Linked DNA regions of Homo sapiens: regions 2 and 3 are each linked to region 1. Evidence: promoter capture Hi-C in 16 types of primary human blood cells and fetal thymus (Javierre and others, 2016). All regions are on one chromosome and are shown on one strand. Each heading gives the region's core, a stretch centred on a gene start or on the middle of the fragment in contact. The rest is flanking DNA. Distances are from core to core; before and after follow the strand shown.

Region 1 (3,261 bases), core at 485-2,984:
CTGTCAGTCACCCGCTCCCTCCTCAAGGCTTGGGTTGGAGTCTGCAAGACACTACCTCTGCTCTCACTCCTGTCCTATCGGCTTGGTTATCAGCCATCTAAGGAATCCACTTGGTATACAGCCAGCACTCCTGGCATCACATCCCTTTCCCTTGCCCCTTGGGGCCGGGCTCCTCTCAGACAGCCAAATCTTCATCCACAGAATGCACCGGGCCCGCCCCGCGGCCTCGCGGTCCTAGGGAGGGCCCATATCCCAGCTTCTCCCTGCTCAGTCCCCTGCTGGCTCTCCACTCTCCCTCCCCACTGGCGCTTTATACTGCCAAGATTCCCCTGTCAGCCCTGCTCTCCACCCTCACCCTAGTGAATTCCCTTCACTCTTTCTTTTCCCAGTTTGTTGACCTACTCAAGCAATGGCTTGAGGTCCCGGAGCTTTTCCTATGAAACCACAGCAGGTACCTGGTTTCCATCAATATTCTTTGGGAAACCTTGGGGTGTGAAAGAATCACTCGTTGCAAGGTACAGCCCCTCCCTCACCAGCCCCTTCCAGTTTCACTCAATTTAGTCTCCCAAATTTACGCTATATCCTTGCCTCCTACTTTTGAAGTTTATATCCCTAACCTGCCCCAGGGCTGAGACCGGTAGGGCAGAGCCCCAGTCCCTTTCACACCGCACAAAACCCGCAGTTAAGCCTGGATGGCAGAGACAAGCCGGAAAAGTAGGAATCCCCCCGTGTTCCGCTCCCAGCGTCCTTCTTCCTGTCACGAGCAGGGCTTCTGCATTCTCTGCGGATTCTAGTCTCCCTGCATCCAATTGCTTCCAAGCTCCTCATTACACAGCACAAACTTTACTCTCATTCTTTTCACCCCTGATTCTTCGGAACCCACACCAACTCGCGGCCCGTTGTGAGTGGTATGACACAGAGAGACCTGTCCCCCTTTCCCAATCCCTACCTCCGCTTGTACTCGTCCCGCTCCCGCTTCACTTTGGCCAGCACGTTGTAGAGAGCGCGGATCTCGGGCGTGATGGTGTCGATCTGGACGCCCACCCCATCCGGGTGCACCCACGACAAGCCAGGCCCTTGCACCAGAGTGGGCTCCAGTCCCGGCCCGAGCCGGCGGGCGTGCGAGAACGACCAGATGGTGCCGGGCATGAAGCGGGCCGACGAGGAATAGGTGGTGGAGGTGGAGGTGGAGGACGACGAGAGGCTGGCCGCGGAGGGCGCGAGGGGGCCGGCCGGGGAGCGCGCGGGCGAGCCCAGCACGCGCGCCGAAGGGCTGCAGACAGCGGCCGGCCGGGCGCCCAGCTGCAGCCCCAGGGGCCGGATGGGGCTGACGAAGCCGGTCTGCACTGCCTGGTCGCGACGACCCAGGCCCCGCCGGCCCTGCTTACCCTCCTCCAGCGCTTGCTGCAGTTGCTTCTCCAACAGCCGGTTCCGGCGCTCCAGCTCATGCACCTTGGCCAGGAAGCAGCGGAACCGGAGGTTCAGGGTCTTGAGCACGTTGATGTTGGAGCCCAGGTCATTGCGGAGGGCCATGGCGGCAGGCGGGGCCGGGCCCGGCCCGGGCGGCGAGTAGGCAGCAGGGCCGGCCGGCGAGAGAGGCGCCGGGGGCAAGTCTCCTCCCCCGGCGAAGTGGTCGCCTCCCAGTGAGTCCCCCAGTGGCCCGGCCAGGCCCTGCTGCTCCTGCTGCAGGAGGAAGAGGTTGGGGCCGAATAACGGATTCATGGCTGCGCCTTCTGCTGGGAGATGCAGACCGGTGCAGGAGCAGGGATGGAAGGCGAGCCAGAAGAGCCAATGCGGCGCCGGCGGGACAGAGCCGACCAATCAGGCGGCTCGGCAGCGGGGCAGAGGTCAGGGGGCGGGCCGAGGGGAAGCCAATGACAGGCTCCAATTGGAGGCCGGACCCTGGACCTTTCCGGGTCTGAGGCCGAGCCCTGTGATGAGGGGAGCCACCGCCTGGACTCCAGCCGGGGTGGCGTAAAGCCCAGGACCTCCAGTACCCCATGGGTTCTGGTGGCAAGCCCATCTCCCCTACACGACTTTTTTTTTTTTTGAGACCGAGTCTCACTGTCGCCCGGGCTGGAGTGCAGTGGCGCGATCTTGGCTCACTGCAACCTCAGCCTCCCAGGTTCAAGCGATTCTCCTGCTTCAGTCTCCCGAGTAGCTGGGATTACAGGCACCCGCCACCACACCCGGCTGATTTTTTGTATTTTTAGTAGAGACGAGGTTTCGCCATGTTAGCCAGGCTGGTCTCGAACACCTGACCTCAGGTGATCCACCCGCCTTGGCCTCCCAGAAAGTGCTGGGATTACAGGCATGAGCTAGTGTGCCCCGCCTTCCCCTACACTTCTATTGCCCTCCTCTCCCCGGAGTTCAATCACCCCTAGCTCTGACTCCAGGGCTTTCCCTTCCTGGGAAAACCCAAGGATGCAGGAGCCTAAAACTGACCTTATTTCTCAGTAGCACCCAACCATTCCCTCTCCTCAGAAGATCCCAGTCCCACCTCCCATCTTTACCCTTAAAGCGGCAAAGGCAGCACCCAGTTCCCTCAAAAATACTCAGTGGCCAGAGGTTTTAAAATGTGTATTAAATTTCATGGGTATGCACAGTAGAGAAGGCATCCTCACAGAGGCAAGAGTTCCAACCTGGTGACAATGGCAGTGAGCCACCCGTCTAGTTTTCAACCATCTAAGATAGCAGCAGCTGGCTGTTGCCCCTGGACTGAGATTTCTTCCTCTTTGCTGGTGGGGGGCGGCTGGAACGGATGGGAGACACAGTGGGAGGCTGAGGCCCCTTGGGGGTATCATTCTGTTTCTGGAAGGCAGCTTTCTCAAAAGGCTGCTCTGGCAACTGCTGCTTCTCAACCCCCTTGGCCCTTCCAAGGGGCTGATGATGGTCCTTAGGTTTCAGGGTGGCCTGAGTCTTGGATGGGGATAACACAGCCGGTGTTTGTGTGTCTGTGCCCTTGGGAGGGGCATTCTGCCTGAGGAAAGCAACTTTCTTGGAGGACTGTAATTTAGGTGATCGTTGCTTTAGCTTCCCAGTCACCTTTGGCTCCCTGATCCCTTCGGCTTTTCCAGCTGGCTGACTGCTATCCTGGAAGCTGGAGGAAGCTTGGGTCTTTGTGACAGAAGGTACAGTGGACAATTCTGAGTCTGCCCCTTTGGAGATGCCATTCAGCTTCTGGAAGGAGGCCTTCTTGGGATGTTGCTGTTTCTGCAGCTGCTGCTTTGTCTTTGCAGCCCCCTTGGCTTTCTTGGCTGG
Region 2 (3,261 bases), core at 267-2,766, 420 kb before region 1:
CATGCATTTTTGTTTGTCTTATCTCCTCCAGTCTGAGCTCTCCTTAGAACAAGACCTTGCCTTACTCATCTCTGTATCTTCCAAAGTGCTCTGTCTGGAGCATAGCACATGGTAAGTGCTCCATAAATGTCTGTTGAACTCCCTGCTAGTAGAACAATGATGTGGGTTAATTAGCATATAATATTAAAATGTAGCTACAGAACTGAAACTGCAGATAAAAAAAATTGCTTAATACCCAAGGAAGTTGTTGCCTGCTCTCCAAATCATCAGCACAGAAGATAGCACTCGTCACTGTGGTTGGGGAAATTGCACGGTGAAAGTCACAGGATGGCTCTGCAAGGGGGCAGGGACATCAGACTGGGGTCACGTTCCCATGTGGTATTCTGCGCCTGTAACTCATATGACACTCTGGCACTATTTCTAAATAACACTCAAGTGTCTGTTTTATCAGAGTATAACACACTTGGCTGGAATAGTTCACTTACTGATATTCCACAATTTATGTAACCAGTTCCATATTATGGGATATTTATTTAGGTTAGTGCTACTTTTTTTTTTTTTTTTTTTTTTTTGAGATGCAGTCTCGCTCTGTCACCCAGGCTGGAGTGCAGTGGCGCAATCTCGGCTCACTGCAAGCTCCACCTCCTGGGTTCATGCCATTCTCCTGCCTCAGCCTCCCGAGTAGCTGGGACTACAGGCACCCGCCACTACACCCGGCTAATTTTTTGTATTTTTAGTAGAGACAGGGTTTCACCGCGTTAACCAGGATGGCCTCAATCTCCTGACCTCGTGATCCGCCCGCCTCTGCCTCCCAAAGTGCTGGGATTACAGGCGTGAGCCACCACTCCCGGCCTACTTTTTTTTTTTTTTAATTAACAATGCTGCAGTGAACATCTTTGAAGCTATATCCATGCACAACCCTCAGGATTACTCCCACAGGATGAAATCCTACATGTGGAGCACTGGGTCAGCCACCGTCCACATTTTCAGTGAGGCCTTTGACAATAAGGCCAAATGGCCCCCCTGAAAAATTGCAATGGTTTATAATGGTTGCAATGGTTTAATTACCCATTTGCTGAGTAGGATTTTGCCAGGTGAAAATGAGGGCAAAGGCACATCAGCTGCAAGGAAGGAAGTAAAAGCTTAGAAGCAGGCAAGCTCTGAGATGCTAAATCAGTAAGTAGGTGAATAAGCCAGTTGTTACAGCCTATAAAGGAGACTCACAGGAAAAGAGACCAAAGAGAGGAATAAGAGGCAAGTCCTCAGGGACCTTCAACCAGTGTAGGGGTTTATGTTCATCCTGTGACACCAGATGAGGCCCTCTGGCAGCAGTGGCATGTATTGTGAGAGGTCAGATGGAGAAAGGGAGATCCATTAGTGGTTGGTGGAACCTTCCCGGACAGGGAAGACGAGGGCCTGGAGGAGACCATGGGTTTGACAAGAGAAGAGCAGATACAGCCAACCACGTAACACATTACGGTAGCAGAAGAACAGCCAAAGATGTCTACATCCCATCTCAAACCTCTGAATGCTACCTTACATGGCAAAAGGGATTTTGCAGATGTGAGCAAGTTAAGGGTCTTGAGATGGGGAGATGATCCTGGCTTACCCCAGAGTATCCTGCTGGGCCGATATAATCACAAGAGTTTTTATAAGAGGAGCAGGAGGGTCAGCATCAGGGAAGGAGATGTGATGATGCGAGCAGAGGTCATGCAACGCGGGGCCACGAGGCAAGGAATGTGTGCCCCTGGAAGTGGATAGAGGCGAAGAACAGGTTCTCCCATAGAACCTACAGAAGGAATCCAGCTCTTCCAACACACCTTGATTTTGATCCAATTCGAGCTTCTTACAATTACGAATTGTAAGATAAATTTGTGTTGTTTCAGGCCACTAAGCTTGTGGTCATTTGTCACTGCAGCAATAGAAAACTAATATAGGCCAAGATATCATGCCACACAACCTGCTCCCTTGCCCTCATGGAGGGTGTCCCAAGGCAGCTTTGCCAAATAAGTTAGAGGACAATTAGTGCTGTGAGGCTCAAGGAAGAAGGATCCCTGAGGACCACAGTATGAGAGCCATTAGAACTTGGGCTGATGTAAACAGCATTAAGTACAAATGGGAAGGGTGCGTGACCTCTGGGGGCGCATGGGGCAGGGCTGCTCAGAGGCAGGGGGATGGGTAAATTGACCTCTGCCTGTCTGAGGAGTAAGTTCTCCAGGTAACTAGTACAAAAGCAAAAGAACCTCAGGGGAGGAAAGGTTTTCTAGGAGGACCCATCTTTGTCTTTTCTTTGTATATTTGTAGCATCTCTCTTACGTAAATTCTGCAGGAAAGAGAATTTTCTTGGCAGTATGCGCCAAATAAATAAACACAGCAGTATTTCTTAGGCCAGACGACCAGCTCCCAGCATAAAGCTGTAGCCCCCAGCGGAGAGGAAGCTGTCCTCCTCTACTTCCTCTCTTCTAAAGACAAACATCTTGTGCAAGAATAACATGCTCACTTCCTTCACAATCATCAAAATAGAGAGGACCCACCCACGCTACAATGTCAGAAGAATGGTGCAGCTTCAGACTCATCTTCCCTGGTTCTCAGGAACAATGACACCACATTATTGCTGCTATCGAGCTACAGAGAACTCAGACCATTACATCTGGTGGCATTCCTGGCCCCAGTAGTAGCACAGCAGGATTCCTGACCCCAGAATCACTATCTCAAGACCTGGGGTTCTAATTTGAGAGGCAGAAAGTTACAGCAACTCAAATTTATATGCATCTTACAAAATAGCTTCAAAATACATAAATTGACAATTGACTTCAAAAAGGCTTTCTCAATTATCCATAGGTCAGGCAGATAAAAATCAGTAAAGATAGAAATTTTAAAAACAATGATCAGCCTAGGCAACAAAGTGAGACCTCATGTCTACAAAAAAAAGAAAAAATTAGCCAGGTGTAGTGGCACACATCTGTCATCTTAGCTATTCAGGAGGCTCAGGCAGGAGGATTGCTTGAGCCCCGAAGTTCCAGGCTGCAGTGAGCTATGATTGCACTGATGCAGGGCAAGTAAGCTCCCAAATTGGGACTTAGCCCTGGAAGATTCTTGGCTTTGCTCAGGAAAGAATTCAAGAGCCAGCTGGTGGTAGAAGAAAACAGCTTTATGGAGGCAGCAGTGTGACAACTTTATGACTACTCCTGCAGAGCAGGGCTAACCCCTAGGCAATGTGTTGAGAGCACCAGCTCAGGGGCAGGTCAACAGTCATACATA
Region 3 (3,261 bases), core at 295-2,794, 360 kb before region 1:
TTACTATATTTCCTATTGCTTCGGTAACAACCACAAATTTAGTGGCTTAAAGTAACACATATTTACTATTTCACAATTCTAGAGGTCTGAAATCTAAAATGGGTGGGCAGGGCTGTGTTGGATCCCTCTGGCAGCTGCAGGGGAGAATTCGTTTCTTCGCCTTCTCCAGCTTCTAGAGGCTGTCCTTGTTCCCCAACACACAGCTGTGCATCACTGCGACCTCTGCTTCTGTCGTCACATCTCCTTCCCTGGCTTTGACACTTCCACCTGTCTCTTATAAGAACCCTTTGGATTCCACTGGGCCCACTGGGATGGTCCAGGCTATGCCATGGAAAGTAACACATTCACAGTTTTGGGGATTGGAACGTGGGCCTATTTGGAGGGCCGTTAGAAGTGGAAACGGGCCAGGCACGGTGGCGCACGCCTGTAATCCCAGCACTTTGGGAGGCTGAGGTGGGCGGATCACCTGGGGCCAGGAGTTCAAGACCAGCCTGACCAACAGGAGGAAACCCCATCTCTACTAAAAATATAAAAAATATAAAAAATATAAAAAACACGGTGGCTTACGCCTGTAATCCCAGCACTTTGGGAGGCTGAGGTGGGTAGATAACGAATTCAGGAGTTCAAGACCAGCCTGGCCAATATGGTGAAACCCCGTCTCTACTAAAAATACAAAAATTAGCTGGGCATGGTGGTGTGCGCCTGTAGTCCCAGCTACTTGGGAGGCTGAGGCAGAAGAATCACTTGAACCCGGGAGGCAGAGGTTGCAGTGAGCCAAGATCGTGCCACTGCACTCCAGCCTGGGTGACAAAGCGAGACTCCGTCTAAAAAAAAAAAAATTATTAGCCGGGCATGGCAGCGCACACCTGTAATTCAATCTGCTTGGGAGGCTGAGGCAAGAGAGTCTCTTGAGCCCAGGGATGGAGGTTGTAGTGAGCCGAGATTGAGCCACTGCACTCCAGCCTGGGCAACAGAGCGAGACTTGGTCTCAAAAAAAAAAAATCTGCAGGCTCTTGGATATCAGGACTTGCATTTACAGAGAGATGAGTTAAACAGAGAAAATGGTGGAAGGCACAAAAGGGGATGAGTGCTCCAGGAGAGGTCTGAGAGAGAAGGGCAGGGGCCTGAGAAAGCCCCACGCCCAGCCGTCATTCTGCAGATGTTTGCAGAGGGCCTGCTCTGGGCCAGGAAGGGACCGGGAGCTAGGGAGAGCACAGAAATTAATCAAATGCAAGTGCACCCTCGAGGAGCTCACTACCAAGAAGTGGACACATAAAGGAAGATGATGATGACCAGAGAATCACACATGCGAGACTCAAGGTAATCCACGGAGAAAAAGACTGGAGTGCTCCAGGAAGGCTTCATAAGGTGGTGTATTTGAGCTTAGAAAGAGGAACAGGAGAGAAGCTTCTAGAAGTGAAGGAGGTGAATCAAGATGGCCACTGGTGTGGTGGCTGGAAGGGCCTTGGTGGCCTGTGAGAGCGAGGGTCCTACCTGTTGCCTTACAAAGCCATTGCCCACAGCTGGAGGGACCTGGGGCATGGGTGTGACGGCTCATTAGGTCACCTGGCCTCTGCGTGTTCAAATCTTACCACCAGGGGGGGCACAAGAGCCAAAGTGGACCCTGAGCCTGAGCTGGGGTTTCTTTCCCAGAGACAGGACGCCTTGAGGGAAGGGAGGAAAAGCTTTCCCACTCCAGCACCACAAAGCCTGGAAGGCCTGGCTGCTTCCATGTGATTTCTGACTCAGGGGCTTACCCATATTTTCCTCTTCCGGTTAAGGCAAAACATAATTTTTCCATCGCTCACCTTCCTGGTTGCCTGTAGCACTAACTGTCTGTAACAAATGCACTTTGGCCCAGGGGTTTATTGTGACACAGAATGTCAGGAGGAATGAAAGACACCTCCTGATCCAAAATGCTGTGAACCAAAAAGTATCTGAGACAGGTCTCAATCAATTTAGAAAGTTTATTTTGCCAAGGTTACAGATGGGCGCCCAGGAGGCAGATCTGTGCCTTCTGCAAAGATGATTTTGAGGGCTTCAATATTTAAAAGGCGGCTGGTGGGGAAAGAGGAAGAAAGTTTTTTTAAGGTGTGGGTAGGTAAGAAACAAACGGTTGCATTCTTTTGAGTCACTGATCATCCTCTCACTGAATGCACAATTTACATGGCAGAGGAGGGTAGAGAAATAAGTCACTTATGCCTTGTCTAGCACAGCGAATCTTCATTTTTACATTGGAGGAAGCAATCAGATATGCATTTGTCTCAGGTGAGCAGAGGGATGACTTTGAGTTCTGTCCTTTTTTCTGTACCTGTGAAGATATGCTATCAATTTACATTGTCATGGTGAAATTCAACAGAACTGTTTTAGGGCAAATATCATAGGGTCCACCAGAAATTTCCTCATGGGCAAATTGTGAAAGAAGTGCATAGCTGCTTTTTTTTTTTTTTTTTTTTTTGAGACGGAGTCTGGCTGTGTCCCCCAGGCTGGAGGGCAGTGGCGCGATCTCGGCTCACTGCAAGCTCTGCCTCCCGGGTTCACGCCATTCTCCTGCCTCAGCCTCCTGAGTAGCTGGGACTACAGGCGCCCGCCGCCACGCCCGGCTAATTTTTTTGTATTTTTAGTAGAGACGAGGTTTCACCGTGTTAGCCAGGATGGTCTTGATCTCCTGACCTCATGATCCTCCCGCGTCGGCCTCCTAAAGTGCTTGGATCACAGGTGTGAGTCACAGCGCCCAACAAGAAGTGCATAGCTTTTTTTGTTTTTTCTTTTTGAGACGGAGTCTCACTCTGTCGCCAGGCTAGAGTGCTGTGGCGCGATCTCGGCTCACTGCAACCTCCAACTCCCTGGTTCAAGGGATTCTCCTGCCTCTGCCTCCCGAGTAGCTGGGATTATAGGTATGCGCCACCATGCCTGGCTAATTTTTGTATTTTTAGTAGAGATGCGGTTTCACTATGTTGGCCAGGATGGTCTCGATCTCCTCACCTCGTGATCCGCCCACCTTGGCCTCCCAAAGTGCTGGGATTACAGGCGTGAGCCACTGCGCCCGGCCGAGAAGTGCATAGCTTTTTAAAAAATCTTTGTAGCTATCTTATTTAGGAATGGGAGGCAGGTTTGCCTGTGGCAGTTCCCAGCTTGATTTTTTCCTTTGGCTTATTGATTTTGGGGTCCTAAGATTTATTTTCCTTTCACAATACTCTTGTACAGGTGAGGAGACTGAGGCCCAGAGAGGAGGCTGCCTGCCTAACATAGACCAAAGGG

What was found. The method cuts DNA at HindIII sites, captures the fragments that hold promoters and counts their contacts. A CHiCAGO score of 5 or more calls a contact.
Region 2: a contact is called between a fragment that was not itself captured here and the fragment with the promoter of IFFO1 in region 1, in 1 of 17 cell types (naive CD4 T cells). The highest score is 5.5, in naive CD4 T cells.
Region 3: a contact is called between a fragment that was not itself captured here and the fragment with the promoter of IFFO1 in region 1, in 1 of 17 cell types (non-activated CD4 T cells). The highest score is 6.1, in non-activated CD4 T cells.

The regions. Positions count from the first base shown.
Region 1 is chr12:6,554,308-6,557,568 of GRCh38, forward strand. It overlaps IFFO1 (intermediate filament family orphan 1), which reads right to left and starts at 1,735. Exons shown (of 10, transcript NM_001193457.2): 1 at 950-1,735. The coding sequence starts at 1,722. It overlaps NOP2 (NOP2 nucleolar protein), which reads right to left. Exons shown (of 16, transcript NM_001258308.2): 16 at 2,564-3,261. The coding sequence ends at 2,686. RefSeq lists enhancers at 1-211, 212-712 and silencers at 1,173-1,352, 1,463-1,702, 1,753-1,912. The HindIII fragment of the contact is 7,963 bases long and covers 1-3,108 here.
Region 2 is chr12:6,138,720-6,141,980 of GRCh38, forward strand. No RefSeq gene overlaps it. Among named protein-coding and RNA genes, the nearest start is that of VWF, 16 kb to the left of the region's middle. The HindIII fragment of the contact is 753 bases long and covers 1,141-1,893 here.
Region 3 is chr12:6,194,253-6,197,513 of GRCh38, forward strand. No RefSeq gene overlaps it. Among named protein-coding and RNA genes, the nearest start is that of CD9, 4.5 kb to the right of the region's middle. The HindIII fragment of the contact is 278 bases long and covers 1,406-1,683 here.